Regions from separate parts of the Homo sapiens genome. Here region 1 is linked to region 2. The links are contacts of gene promoters, found by promoter capture Hi-C in human tissues and cell types (Jung and others, 2019). All regions are on one chromosome and are shown on one strand. Each heading gives the region's core, a stretch centred on a gene start or on the middle of the fragment in contact. The rest is flanking DNA. Distances are from core to core; before and after follow the strand shown. Region 1 overlaps NIPAL2 (NIPA like domain containing 2). Region 2 holds the start of KCNS2 (potassium voltage-gated channel modifier subfamily S member 2).

Region 1 (6,353 bases), core at 2,391-4,890, 220 kb after region 2:
TCCAAAAATAGGGAATTGCCAAAATAAATTCATACAAATTCATGGTTTAGAAGAATACTTAATGAAATAGAAAATACTTTAGGTAAATAGGTTCCTAAGTGGTATATACTTGGAAAATGAGCTCCTAAGTAGCATATACCTTATGATTCACATGTTGTAACCTATTCATACTTATAGATAGGAAAATAACAACATGTCCAAATGTCAAAAATGATTTGAGGTGAGTGCTGAAACTACAGGCAATTTTAATTTTCCTTTCCAGGCTTTCCCACATTTTCCAAAAATTTTTAAATGAATATGTTTACTTTTGTAGATTTTTTTAATGAATTTCAAGTTAATTCATTATCCCAGTGCTAGAGATAACCACTGACAATATCTTGATGTAGTTTATTCTCATCTTTTTTTCTGTGCTTACCTAAGTACCTTCTATTTTTAAGTATAATGTTAGAAGAACACTGCATTACAATTATGTATTTCCACCTATCCTCATCAACCACCCCCCAAAAATACTTAGAAGTACTCAACACCAGCCTAGAAATAATTTACAGGTTAAAATAGTGATTAATCAGTTGACAATTGTGCATGCTTTGAAAATGTAACGATTGGCTACAGAAATTGATAGTTTGTTTAGCTATCAATAACAGAGAATTCTAGTTTTGTCTTTGTCTTGTGTTTAAGTATAATATAAAATCAGATAGTGGTTAAATCAGATGACCTTTAAGGTCCTTTGCAATTCTGAGGTTCTGAGGCTAATGGAACAGTACGTTCAACTCCTTCTCCATTAATTGTCCCGTTGGGAAACCTGGCTGTTCAGACCACAAGATCATAATCACACTGTGTTCTAATTTCAGGCAGTGTTTAGAAGGAAATCAAGGTCCCTCAAGAGCTAACCTACAAACTTAAACCATCAAGTGACACACAGATCTCTATAGATATTTAAAATGCCTAGTTTAGCTAAGATGTGGCTACTAGCATAATCAGTAGGAAATATGTAAAAGAATCAGGTCAAAAGACATCTTAAGATGGAGAAAGGCCTGATTGTAAGGGCCTCTTTGTTGAGAAGTGGGGTTTGTTTTTAGAATTTATCACCTGATCTCCTCTGTCAATTATGATTTTTTTTTCCTTTTTTTTTTTTTTTTGAGACAGAGTCTCGGTCTGTCACCCAGGCTGGAGTGCAGTGGCCCTCTGCGAACTCCGCCTCCTGGGTTCACGCCATTCTCCTGCCTCAGCCTCCCGAGTAGCTGGGAATACAGGCATCCACCACCATGCCCAGCTAATTTTTTGTATTTTTAGTAGAGACAGGGTTTCACTGTGCTAGCCAGGGGATGGTCTCGATCTCCTGACCTCATGATCCGCCCGCCTTGGCCTCCCAAAGTGCTGGGATTACAGGTGTGAGCCACCGCGCCCGGCCAATTATGATTTTTAACTAAAAGAAAATGCCTAATTTGGAAGTGTGCCCTAGTACCCTTCAAGTTAAAGTATATTTTCAGTTTTTGGAAAACGATATTATGGGAGGCTTTTCTTGGCTGGCCACCACTTGCTGTTTTAAATATATATATATTTCAAATACATACATACATACATACATATATATATATACACACACACACATACATAAAATACCTTTTCAAATAAAATGAAGGAAACTCAGATATATTATGACCAAGTAGATCAACAGCAACAAAAGGAGTATTTCTCCTTCGCATTGCCTTTGACTTATAGTTTTTTTATTTCATGTAAAAATTATTTTTGAACTTTCAGTGAGTTTTAGCTAAATTATGGAATTATTTGCAACAGTAACTTCGAGGGACATAAGACAGAAAGCATTCTTTTCTTCCTTACAGAAAGATGATGTTGCCAGAAAATGCTCCATTACTTTCATAGTGATATAACCTTATCAAGTTACTTTTTCTTAATTGCTGTTTGGAACCTACGAAAAGTTTGTTCTCATAAGGGATGAGTTCCACTTTAGCATAGAACATAAATAGCTATTGCTTATGTAAACCTTAAATTGATGGTCCACCCTGAGAAATGAATACTCAACTCTGCTCCTGCTTCCAATTATTGTCATTGTCAAAAATATTCTTAATGAAACTTCTAGGTGTCTCCTAACAAAAGGGCTCACATATAGACTTAGTACAACTCACTTGATTTTAGCCAAAAGGCTGAGAAGCAATGACTTAGTACAACTCTAAGTAAACTCAAGAAGTGAGTTGCATTTCACTTTCCAGTCTTCTCATCTACTTGGTTTTTAAATTTTCAGTATAGTTTAATAGTTATTTTCTCATTAATGTCACATGGACAATCTGACTTTTCTTATCTCCTCCCTCCATTGTTTTTGCCTTTCCCATCTACTAGTAATTATAACCTCCACAGCATTCTTTCAACAGTTAGGGATGGAAAAGAAGCATCTTGCTCCACAGATAAAAAAAAAAAACACACAGTCACACAGCAGATCTTTAGCTGATTTAAGCAAATTTGATATCCAGCACGGCTCGAGCAACAAGGCCACTGCTTACTAATGTCACATCCCTTCCTACACCTCTCACAACTGTGTTCATTCTTAAACCATAATTGGTATATTTGCTACTCTACTACATAAGCTTAAGATATTTGTTAATTCAATCTGAAATATGTTCTTTATTTGTGTTTTTTGTTTTCTTTTTCAGCCTCATTGACTGTTATTTCAGTAAAGGCCGTCTCAGGCATGATCACTTTTTCTGTGATGGATAAAATGCAACTAACTTACCCCATTTTCTATATCATGTTTATCATCATGATAGCATCTTGTGTTTTCCAAGTCAAGTAAGTTAGCTTCTGCATACTCACTAATCTTTCAACATTCCGGTGCTTCTCTGGGCATTAATCTTTACTGGCTTCAGATGATAATTAAAATGAGATACAACTGATTTCTAAGGGTGAAGGGCCTGTAGCTTGTCCTCAGCCAACATGCCTTGCTTCCTCCTTTGCATCCAATAATGAGTTTTTATGAAGCGTTGCCTTCATGTCTTGTGAGTTCTAAAGCGCAGCCTTAATCCAGCTAAGTGCACTTTGATACTTTCCTGATGCTCTTCTGCTTGTAATTAATATCTGTGGTACACAGGTTGTCATTAGCAATAAATCAAAGGGGCAGGTCCACATCCAGGCTTTCATTCTAAATATAGGACACACATGAACCCTTCACCTTCATTTCTTAGCTCATGCTCACTAATTGCCCAGAGAAGGACGAAACCAGACATTTGGCCGGGAGGGAAATCCTTTCCCCAAAATTTTGCATCTTTGGCCAGAATTTCCTTTGTATCCATGGGATTGCGGAATGATTGTTTTATGTTTCTCTTGAGGCCTAATAGTGGTGACATGGAACGTTTTTAATTTCTGCTCTTCCCTGCCCCCACTCCATCAACTCTAATCACTTCCCCTCTATCTCTCACATTGGGATTGTGCCTTTGCCTGCTGGGCTTTCTTGAGTTGACCTGAAAGTTTTCTGTTCACCCCAAAATGCTATGCAAAAGCACCATCCCAGATAAGAAATCAGAGCTCAAAATCAGTACAAGAGTGGTTCCTTCTGTAGGTGTGAGAAATACCGTCTAATTGTTATGGGCTGAAGATAGGCCCTGTTACAAGGTCTATGGAGAATTACTGGAAAAACCCAATGTTTTGTCACTGGTTTGTCATCTCCTTATAAGCCTGTGTTTCTAATACTTGCATTTGCTATTTCATTTATCTGTTTCTTCTGAATTAATTGGTACTGCCACAGTATCTTTTGGGATTAGTGGCATTATCTTCATACCATACTTTGTAAATTTGACAGGCAGACACAATTGGGGGTAAACTGCATCCTGTCACCCTTGTCTCAGTCTCCTGCACCCATCACACTGTACGACTGTGGTTCTCAGCCCTGGTTGCCCATTAAAATGACCTGGTTTTTGTACATACATATGTACATGCATGTATATGACCTGGCTTTTGTACGTATATGTACTTGCAGGCATACATGCACATACATGCATTTACGTATACCTACATATGTGTATGTACACACACACACACACACACACACACACACACAGGCTCTACCCACAAAGTACTTTTTTCAATTTCTCTAGAGTAGGACCTAAGCATTAGTGCTTTTTAAAAGCACCCTGGTGATAGTGCAATTCACTGCTTCAAAAAACAATCTAGTCCCTAGCAGGGCAGCACAGCACAGTTGTGGGAACTGCATTTGTGTTGGTGGCCAGAATGAGAAGCTGAGCTCCCACATGTGCTCTGCAGCTGGAGCACTGAGCATTGTTTTTGAAACATTAAACATTCCTTTACTTCTCCATCTTCTTTCTTGGCACGTGGCATGTCAATGGATAGCTCTACTATTCCCCAGATATGATATTTAACAGATTCTGGGGTCTATCCTAATGAATCAGGCCCAGTGTGATACTGGTCCAGCAGCTTGAATCGCTTCCAACTCAAACTTCTGTGGCCTCGGAATATGATTAATTGCTTTTCATTGTTACTGTTGTTGGTTTAAACAGACCATAGAACCTGACATCTGATCTCATACATCAGATGCATATAAGCTATGACTGCTGATTGGAAATGCCCTTTCACTGCACCTCCTTTCCCTTTGTAGTTGTAGCTAAAGAACACGTGTTTCTTGAAGTTATTGTTAACTTATTGCTGAATGTCTCCTAAAGCCAAAGCTCCAGTAAGTGCCTTCTGCCCTAGGTTCCTGAATCAAGCCACGAAACTCTACAATACGACAACAGTGGTGCCAGTTAATCATATTTTCTTTACAATCAGTGCCATCATTGCAGGTGAGTTTTGGTTTTCTATACATTGGTGATTCCAAGCATAAATGAAGTTTCTCCCAGAGTAAATGAGAGAATCCAGAAATCTTTAGGTTGTAAGGATCTGTGTTGCCTCCACCTGGTGTCTGAATTTCCCCTATGACAATCTTCCAGGAGAGGTTCCTCTACTTTGTGTGAATGCTCTCTGCCTCCTGGGTCAGCTCAGTCCTGCTTTGGATCACTCTCATTCTCTGGAGATTTCTAAGTAGAAAGTGTTTTCTTATATTGGAGCTGAAATGAGTTTCCTTGCAAATTTAAGACACTCATCTTTGTTCTTGTTGGAGTCTTTCCCTTGCCAGCCCTTGGATTAGTCCATTTTGTGTTGCTATAAAGGAATACCTGAGACGGAGTAATTTATTTTTAAAAGAGGTTTATTTGCCTCATGGTTCTGCAGGCTGTACAGAAGCATGGTGCCAGCATCTGCTTCTTGTCAGGACCTCAGGAAGCTTTTACTCATGGTAGAAGGCAAAGGGAGAACAGACACGTCACATAGCAAGAGATGGGGCGAGGGAGAGGGGTAGGTCCCAGTCTCTTTAACAACCAGATCTCATATGAACTCAGTACTGACAGAGGACACCAAACCATTCGTGAAGGATCCACCCTCAGGACCCACACACCTTCCTCTAGGCCCCACCTCCAGCATTTGGGGATCACATTTCAACATATGATTTGGAGGGGACAGATATCCAAGCTATATCAGCCCTTCTGATCATCAAAGCAACTGAAAGGTCCTCTTGAGTCTTGTCTCTGGGCCATACATGCCCAATTCTACTAACTCTTCCCTATATGCCCCTCACCAGCTCGATCAGACAGTACAATCCAAAACTGAATTCAATGTTCCAGGGCAAGCCTGAGAGACAAGAATAGAAACTACTGCCTTTGCTATTCTGGCCTCTATTTTTCTACTATTGCAGTTCTTTTATTAGTATGGACCATTTTTTAAAATATGACAGGCATGATAGCATTAAAACTAAAAGTATAAATTTGAAACTCGGTCCAAACCAAAAACAGTTGATTTGAGTATACCATTTCTATATTTGGTACTGGTATGCCCTCATTCATTGGCTTATCTGATGTATTTACCACCTTCTTGATCTTGAGAGTTCATTTCTCAATGTAAAGTTTATGTATTTGGAGGAGTAACTGAGGATTGTCTGTTTCCTAACTGGCACATTTTTTTTTCATTTTATGGAAAACAATGTGACTGTCAGTGGGTAGTTCTTTAAAGTAATTAATGCATTTTCTGTTTCCCAAAATTGAAACTTAATATTTAAAGAAAATATTCTATCCCATGACATCTAATTTTTTAGTATTTTAAGCTAGTTAATAAATTAAGAAAAGATTGCATATTGATGTGTCTTAGAATTATTGGAAAAGGAAAATAGGCCAAAAAGAGACATAGAAATGACATAAGCCTGATAGTTAATATTAATGTGCATAAAGAATATAGTTGCCCTGATCGGAAGATTTTCTGCAGCCTGGGAACATAGCAAGATGTCATCTCTAACAAAT
Region 2 (7,179 bases), core at 533-3,032:
TGAGGAAGTCAGGGGCCACAGCAAACCTGGCCACCAGCTCAAATGTGAACCAGGCAATGCCAAAGTGCTCCACGATTTCGAACCTAGGGTCCTCGCCAGGGTTGCCCTGGCTGTCAGGGATTTGGAAATCGGGCAGGCTATTGAGGCACATGGTGATGATGGACCCCATCACCACCAGGATGGACAGGATGCTGAAGACCCTGCTCAGCACTGAGTAGCCGGGGTTGTCCAGCGCCAGCCACAGCTGCCTGCGGAAGTTGCCGAGGGGCTGCCCATCGAACTTGGAGGCGTCGTTGTAGAAGGCAAGGATCTCATCGAAGGAAGACGTGGTGCTCTCCTGGTCACTCTGCTCGTCCCACTTCTCCTGCTCGGGCTCTACTTTGCGGCCATGGTAGCTGTAGCTGCAGCAGGAGTCAATGAAGAACTCGTTGATGCCCCAGTACTCGATCTCCTGGCTGAAGGAGAAGACACATAGCTCAGCCATGACGTGAAGCTTGCCGGTGTGATAGAAATGCAGCACGTAGGGGAAGAGCTCAGGGTTGCGGTCGAAGTAGAACTCCCGCTGGACGTCGTCGTAGTCATCGCAGAGCTCCAGAATGGCCTCGCGCGAGTGGCAGAGCAGCAAGCGGCCCAGGCGCGTCTCGGGGAAGCGCAGCAGCGTGTGCGAGCGCAGCCTCCTCTTGAAGCCGCCCACATTGATGCGGATCTCCCCGTCCTCGACGTTAGCCTCCGACACGTCCCACAGGCTCTGGCCGGTCATGCTGGAGGCGCCGGCCGCCCGCGCCGCGCGGGGGCGCTACACCTGGAAGCGGAGGGAACAGCGTCGGCGAGAGCGCCGTGCGCCCTGGCGGGGCCCCCTCTCCCTACCCATTACTGGCGGGCCCAGGCCTCCTGGTGGGTCTTGGGTGCTGAAGGGCTGGGCTGGGGCAAGAGTTTGAGGGGTCTGATCCCCTCCCAGGAAAGGCTGGGGGTGGGTATGTTTCTATTAGCACAGCTCCACCCCAGGGGTCTCGGTGGGCGCTTTGCGCGTGCGGGGTCGCGTCCCCGCGGCTCTGAGCGCCCAGGGGGCTGCATGCTGACCTTGTCCATGGGCAGGCCCGGGAGACGCCCCCGCCCGCTCGCCGCAGACAGGCGGGACCGGAGCTGAGATACGCACGGGCAGGGCCGGGCCGACACGGGGGGCGCGTAGCTTTGGTGGGGTGGGGGGGATGCGCTGGAGTCTGGAAACCCGGGCCGCGGGAATGAGGGGGGCGGCCCGGCCTCCCCTGGGTCCAGATCCCACGCCTGCAGCCCCCGCGTCCCCGGCCCAGGTCTCCCTGCCGGCCTGGCGCTATGCCCCGGGGCCGCGTGCGCTGCGCCTCACCCAGCGGGGCTGCCCGGGCTCGCCCTGCGCGTTCTGGAAGCGCTTACCTGGGAGCACGGGTGCCCGCGGCCGAGGCCGGCGGGAAACTTCCCCAACCCGCGGGCGAGCATCGCGGCGGTGGCCGCTGCCTGCTGGCGGTGCGTGCGCGGGTGCGAGTGTGTGCGCCCGGCGGGCCGGCGGGCGGGGGCCGCCGAGCGTCTCCTCCCGTCTCGGGCCGGGTACGCCGCCGCCGCCCGCAGCTGCCGAAGGCTCACAGGTGGCTGCGTGGTCCCGCCGCTCCCGGAGCCCCCTCTCCGGATCCGCGCGCCCCTCACCCACCCAGAGAGGCAGGAACCCGCGCCGCATTCGCCCCGTGAGCCGGGGCGGGAGCAGAGCGGGTGTGACGGGGCGCCCGCCCTGCGCGGGGCGCGGCGCGGTGGTGCTGAACGGACAGCTCCGCGTGCCTCGGCCGCCGCCCGGGCTCGGAAGGCGCAGCCGCCGCCGCCGCTGCTTCTCTGCGCTTCCCCGGCGCGTCACCGCGACCACCTTGCGCCCCCGGCTCGGCGCGGGGCCGACACCTCTCCCTTCCCCCCGACCATCCCCCGGTGACAGCTGTTATTATCACCACCCCCAGGGCGCAGGCAGGGGGCTGCCTACGGTGACCTTTCCCCGCTGGGTCTGGCGGGAGCTGGGCTGGGAAATAAAGGGCGGCTTGCGCGTGTCCGGGGACAGGGCGGGACCGGAGGAACTCCAGGTGTCCCCTTTTAGGGACCTGAAGAAAAGTTTCCCGAAGCCCGGGGGTGGGGTTGTTGGGGAACAGGAGCTGGAGGGGAAAAGAGGGGGCCGGGAAGTCCAAGGTGGAGATCGGCTTAGTACGCGGGGGGCGGGAGCGCAGGCCGCACGGCGGGGGCGGGAGTCGCTGAGTTCTGGTCGGGAGCTCTGTGTGGGCACAGTTTGTGTCCAGGCCGGTGTGGTGTGCTGGCTGTGCGGGACTGCAGGGCGCTGTGTGTGTATGTAGGCTGAGGACAGCAGGACTTTTCAGTGTCTGTGTGTACCGCGTTCATTAAAATGGGTCCTCTGTCGGATGGGAAGATGCGTCGGCACAGGGGGGACCTGGGACGTGTGTCAGCGCAGTGTGTGGCATGGGGAACCGTGTGCTGTGTGTACATGTGCTGTGTACAGTGTAGTACTCTTGGGACTGTGACGGGCTCATGTGTGTGGAATATGTTGAGAGCGGTGTGCTTGCCGACAGTGGGGACTGGGGGGTTCAAGCTGGAGTGGGGACTGGTAGATGTGCTCAGGATCTGTGTCCCTATTCCTAAGAAGACTCGTGGCCCAGATCTGAGCTCTTGGTCTGCTGGGATTGTCCTTAAGGCCCTGCCTACTGGGCTGAGCTGAGAAATGGACCCAGTCCCTGGGGAGCCCCCTCCCTTTGGTGTTTCTCTGTGGTGTCCACTTGCAAAGACTGGAGCACCGTGGTTGTGTGAGCTTAGCAGGGAGCTAGCGTCTACATGTCTCGGTCAGAAGTCCTGGGAATGCCCTTGCAGGGTGGCTCTGGATTCATGGTGCAACCACCACTGCCACAGTGGGAAGTACATTCTTTCTTTACGCAATCCTGGCAATGCCGTCCCAGCTGAAAAGGTGCTCTGTGTAGCTCTGGAGGGCTTGGGGCCTCCTTGGAGGACCTGTAGAGGACCGTTAATCTGGCTTCGAATGGGGGCTCCTGCATCCAAGTCTGACCCATCCCTGTGACCCACTGGCTTCTGGACATGTGTGTGGGTGTGAATGCAGGTGTGTTTCCTGCTGAGAGGGCTTCACACCCATGCCCCTGCAGGCCTCTGCAAATGTGGTGGATTCCACAGAGGCAGCCACATGGGAGAGGGATAGTAGGGTAGTGAGGGCCACACACACTTCCTCTTTCTTGTGTATGACCTTTCCCCAGGCTTTGGGAAACTTTTCTTCAGGTCCCTAAAAGAGGAATCCAGTCCTCCATTCTGCCCTACCCTCAAACACACACAAGCCACCCTTTATTTCCCAGTGTGTTTGTGTGTGTGTGTGTGTGTGTGTGTCTGAGAGGGAGAGACGGAGAAAAATCTGATCTTGGTTATCCTTGTCTTCATCTCCCTTTCTTTCAGGGTCTGTGTGTGGACAGCAGCCTCTATCTAGGTCTGCTGGGTCCATCATTGGAGGTCTGTGGCTCCCACACACCTGGCTGCAGTCTGGGAGCCCCTGGATCTCCTTCATCCCCATGGGGGTGCTGTGGAGAGAGTGCCACCCTTGCTGAGGGGGTGTGTGCTTCAGTGCATTTATAATCCCTGTGTCAGTGCCTCTTTCACCCTTTTCCAATCCCCCCTTCCACACCTTCGGCGGGGTGATGGTGGCTGCAAGGTGTCTCTGCTGCAGGGGCCTGAGCAGCAGCACCTACGGGACAGCCTTCATGGGCCCTGTGGCTCTCCCTAGCTCTCACCCCTATCCTTTCACTACGAGCTGCCTGCCTTCCGGCCCCTCCAGAGCTCACAGCCCCCTTCTGTGGCTTCTGCCACATGTCGCCATTCCCAGCCGCTCCCATTCCCTTGGCCTTGGCTCCTGGCTATTCTGGTTTAGCTCAGTGCATAAATCACCTTTTTCTGCTGCATTTGGAGGGTCCTTCCTTCTACACATACTTGAGTTTGATTCCTCCAGGGCTTTCCTCCCTCCCCTGCTTCATGTATCTGCCCGCCTCCTTCTGTTCCTGTCTGTTGTTCTTTCTCCTTCATCCTCTGTGGTCGTGGGAGATTTCACCCATGGAGAGAGAGCCCTCTGCCTTCTGTTTTTCTTTGTTTCTTCCACACCCACGGCCACCCCACCTGCAGACCAGGCTCTGCCTGGGCCCCTGGGGCTCTCACCCTCCCATCTCTCTAACAGAGGCCACTCCTTGCCCCTCTCAGCTCTGCCCCTGCTCTTGCCAACAACCCGACCTCCTACCTTCCTCCCTCTCTCCCTCCCCCTTGTCCCCTTCCCCAGCTGAGAGAGCTGTGCCAACATGCTTCCAGCTACACTAGGGCCCTGTGTCTAAGCCTGCCCTTTGATAGCTCTTTCTGTGAGTTTGGGGTCAGGGACAAGCCCCCCTGCTCACCTTTCCTTGAATGGCAGAGTGAACTTGGAGCCTGCAGGGAGAAGCCCAATGTGGGGCACATCAGTTATTTATTGGAAAGGCTGAGACAGAAGCTCTGTGGGTCTGACAGATGCCTTTGCAGAGGTTAAGTGTATGTGACAGGCAGAGCCACTTGTTTATTTCCCAGTCATCGTGCTGAAAAGAAATGGAGCCATCTCCCTCCTTCCATACCGGGGAAGCTGGCTTTGTTTATGGTTTATTTAGAGGTCTGAGCCCTGATCTTAAAATACAGCCACTGCTCCAGGCGCAGGTTGAGGCCTGCCTCTGGGCTGGCCTGGCTGGCCTGCTGGGAAGATGGTGAGGGGGTACAGGTGTGCAGGGAGAGGCACCCTGGGAAGGGGGATGAAGAGACCTTAGTCAGTGGCCCAGATCCTTGCACCTGGCCGACTGTTATCTCTGCCTTCACTGCCAATGATGATCTCTCAGCTGAGCCCACACATCTCAGACTCAGCTTTTCTCCCCCTGACAGGCGAGGGGGCTGCACTGGCAGCTTGGCTGAGGGAGCTGCCTGACCTACATTCCCCACTGTGAGGAACAGTTGGGTCCTTGACCTTCCCCCTGGTGTTTCAGCACAGAGGTGCTTTCCGCCCTGAAGGACTGGACAGTTCACCTGTGTCCATCCTGCTCCCCACCAGCCATCCTCCCCACAGCAGCCAGAATGTCTTTTAAAAACACAAACGAGGTCATGTCATTCCCTCCTGAAAGCCTTCCAGGGACTTCCCATTGCACTGAGAATGAAAACCATCTCCTAACCACAGCTCCAAGACCCCCTATGATACACTCTGCCCACCTCCCAAACTTCGGCTCACTGCTCTCTTCTCCACCAGCTGTGCTCCAGCCGCATGCCCGCTTTGCTCCCTGTGCAGGGCCTCTGCACTACCACACTCCCTGCTTGGCATGGCGGTTCACGGGGCAGGCCCCTTCTTGCCACTCAGGTGATTTAAATATCACCTCCTCAGAGAGGCCTGACTCCCCAGTCTAAACTGGAGCCTTTGGTCAGTTTCTCTTGTGCCTTCACGACACGTATATTAAATAGTTATTGAATACAGGATTGGATGACGAATGAATGAGGCCCCAGCTGCTATGTTAAGTTATTCTGTGCCTGCCAGAGTCTTGGCCCCAACTCCTTCCTCCTGATGCATCAAGAAGGGAACTGGATGGGGAGGGAGTCACTGTGCTTGGAGCTGTGGTCTGGAGCCCCCAGGCTCTGGGGTGCTCTCCTGAGCAACTGATCAGCTTAGTAGATCTCAGTCCTAGCTGCATATTCGAATCACCTGGGGAGATTTTAATTTAGCCAATCCTCCTAGATGCCTTGGGCCTCACACCAGGCCAATTAGATCAGAGTCTCTGGTGAGGGCAAATCGGCATTTCTTAAGCTCCTAAATGATTCCAGGGTGGAGCCAAGGTTGAGCCCCTGAGCAGCCTGACTTTGGGGGTGCGGATCGAGAGCTGTGTGTCCATGAGTCTGCACCCGGCGGTCAGTATCAGGGATGGGGTCTGCGTCTCACTCGGTTTGGCAGACACCCACCCACTGCCCCAGGTCTTAGGGCAGGGCCTGCCTGCGGTGGGAGCACTGTGAGGGCTGAGTGCCTTTGTCGTCGCCTCCCTCCATGCCAGACTCCCAGACGGTTTCCTGTGCCTGCTCCTCCCAGAATTCTTTACCTTGGAAACAATTTGAGATTAGGATCTGTCACAGTTTCTCCTCCTCCTTGGAAGAGGATCCCCTCTTGAGCCGTTTTGATGTTGATGGTGGAAATGGGGACGGAGGACAAGGGAGCTAGCCAGCCTGTCTGGGTGGCTTTACAGTAGCAAGGGCGCAGGGGCGTTGCTGGGGATGGAGGCAGGCCTGGAGATGAGGGAGGCAGGAGAGCGAGACCCTGGAATGAGGGAAGCCAGGTCTAGGCCCCAGTGAAGTTGGAGTGGGGGGAGGGGAGAGATTGAGAGGAAAATTGGAGAACAAAGGATTTTAGAAGTTTTGCTGCACGTTACAAATGCAATTCCTCATGAAGTGTTTTCTCAGGAGGCAACAGTAAATGTTTATATGGCTTTTGCATTGTTCCTGGATGCTGGACTGAATTTGTTTTATAGGTGAGTCCTTGCCTGGGCCATTTGGCTTTATCTGCAGAGGCCACTCCCCCATTTGACTACAGCCCTTCCATCCCTGTGTGCTCCCTGGAGGCCAGCGATGAGGCAGAGAAGGGTGTGGTTGTGTCTGAAGAGCTTCTCTAAGAGTCCTTTAATGAAAAGGGGCCCAGATCCTCCAGTCTGGCCTGCACAGGGCCCACACCTGTGGGGTTGGAGCCCTCAAGTTCCCTCCTCTGATGCCTCCTGCTCCAAGTTCCTTATCCTTGGAGGGCTCTTCACCAGCCCCACTAGGCACTGCTCCCTTGGGGGCCCTCCACTGAATTCCTCAGGACATCCTGAGACAAGACTGGAATAATTAATTTTTTATTTATTTATTTATTTTTGAGACAGAGTCTTCCTCTGTCACCCAGGCTGTAGTGCAGTGGTGCGATCTTGGCTCACTGCAACCTCCACCTCCCGGGTTCAAGCAATTCTCCCACCTCAGCCTCCTGAGTAGCTGGGACTATAGGCACCTGACACCACACCTGGCTAATTTTTGTATTTTTAGTAGAGACAAGGTTTCACCATGTTAGCCAGGCTGGTCTCAAACTCCTGACCT

The links. The method cuts DNA at HindIII sites, captures the fragments that hold promoters and counts their contacts. A contact is called where the count stands out against the background at its distance.
Region 1: a contact is called between a fragment that was not itself captured here and the fragment with the promoter of KCNS2 in region 2, in 2 of the 25 tissues and cell types used here (IMR-90 fibroblasts and adrenal gland).

Annotation. Positions count from the first base shown.
Region 1 is chr8:98,201,563-98,207,915 of GRCh38, reverse strand. NIPAL2 (NIPA like domain containing 2) reads left to right here. Exons shown (of 11, transcript NM_001321635.2): 7 at 2,670-2,805; 8 at 4,720-4,808. All of the region lies in intron 2 of NIPAL2-AS1 (NIPAL2 antisense RNA 1), which reads right to left. Among named protein-coding and RNA genes, the nearest start is that of NIPAL2-AS1, 28 kb to the right of the region's middle. The HindIII fragment of the contact is 6,566 bases long and covers 358-6,353 here.
Region 2 is chr8:98,421,561-98,428,739 of GRCh38, reverse strand. It overlaps KCNS2 (potassium voltage-gated channel modifier subfamily S member 2), which reads right to left and starts at 1,782. Exons shown (of 2, transcript NM_020697.4): 1 at 1,411-1,782; 2 at 1-802. The coding sequence starts at 760. It also overlaps a transcript of STK3 not described here. RefSeq lists a silencer at 1,683-1,882 and an enhancer at 6,082-6,690. The HindIII fragment of the contact is 18,533 bases long and covers 1-7,179 here.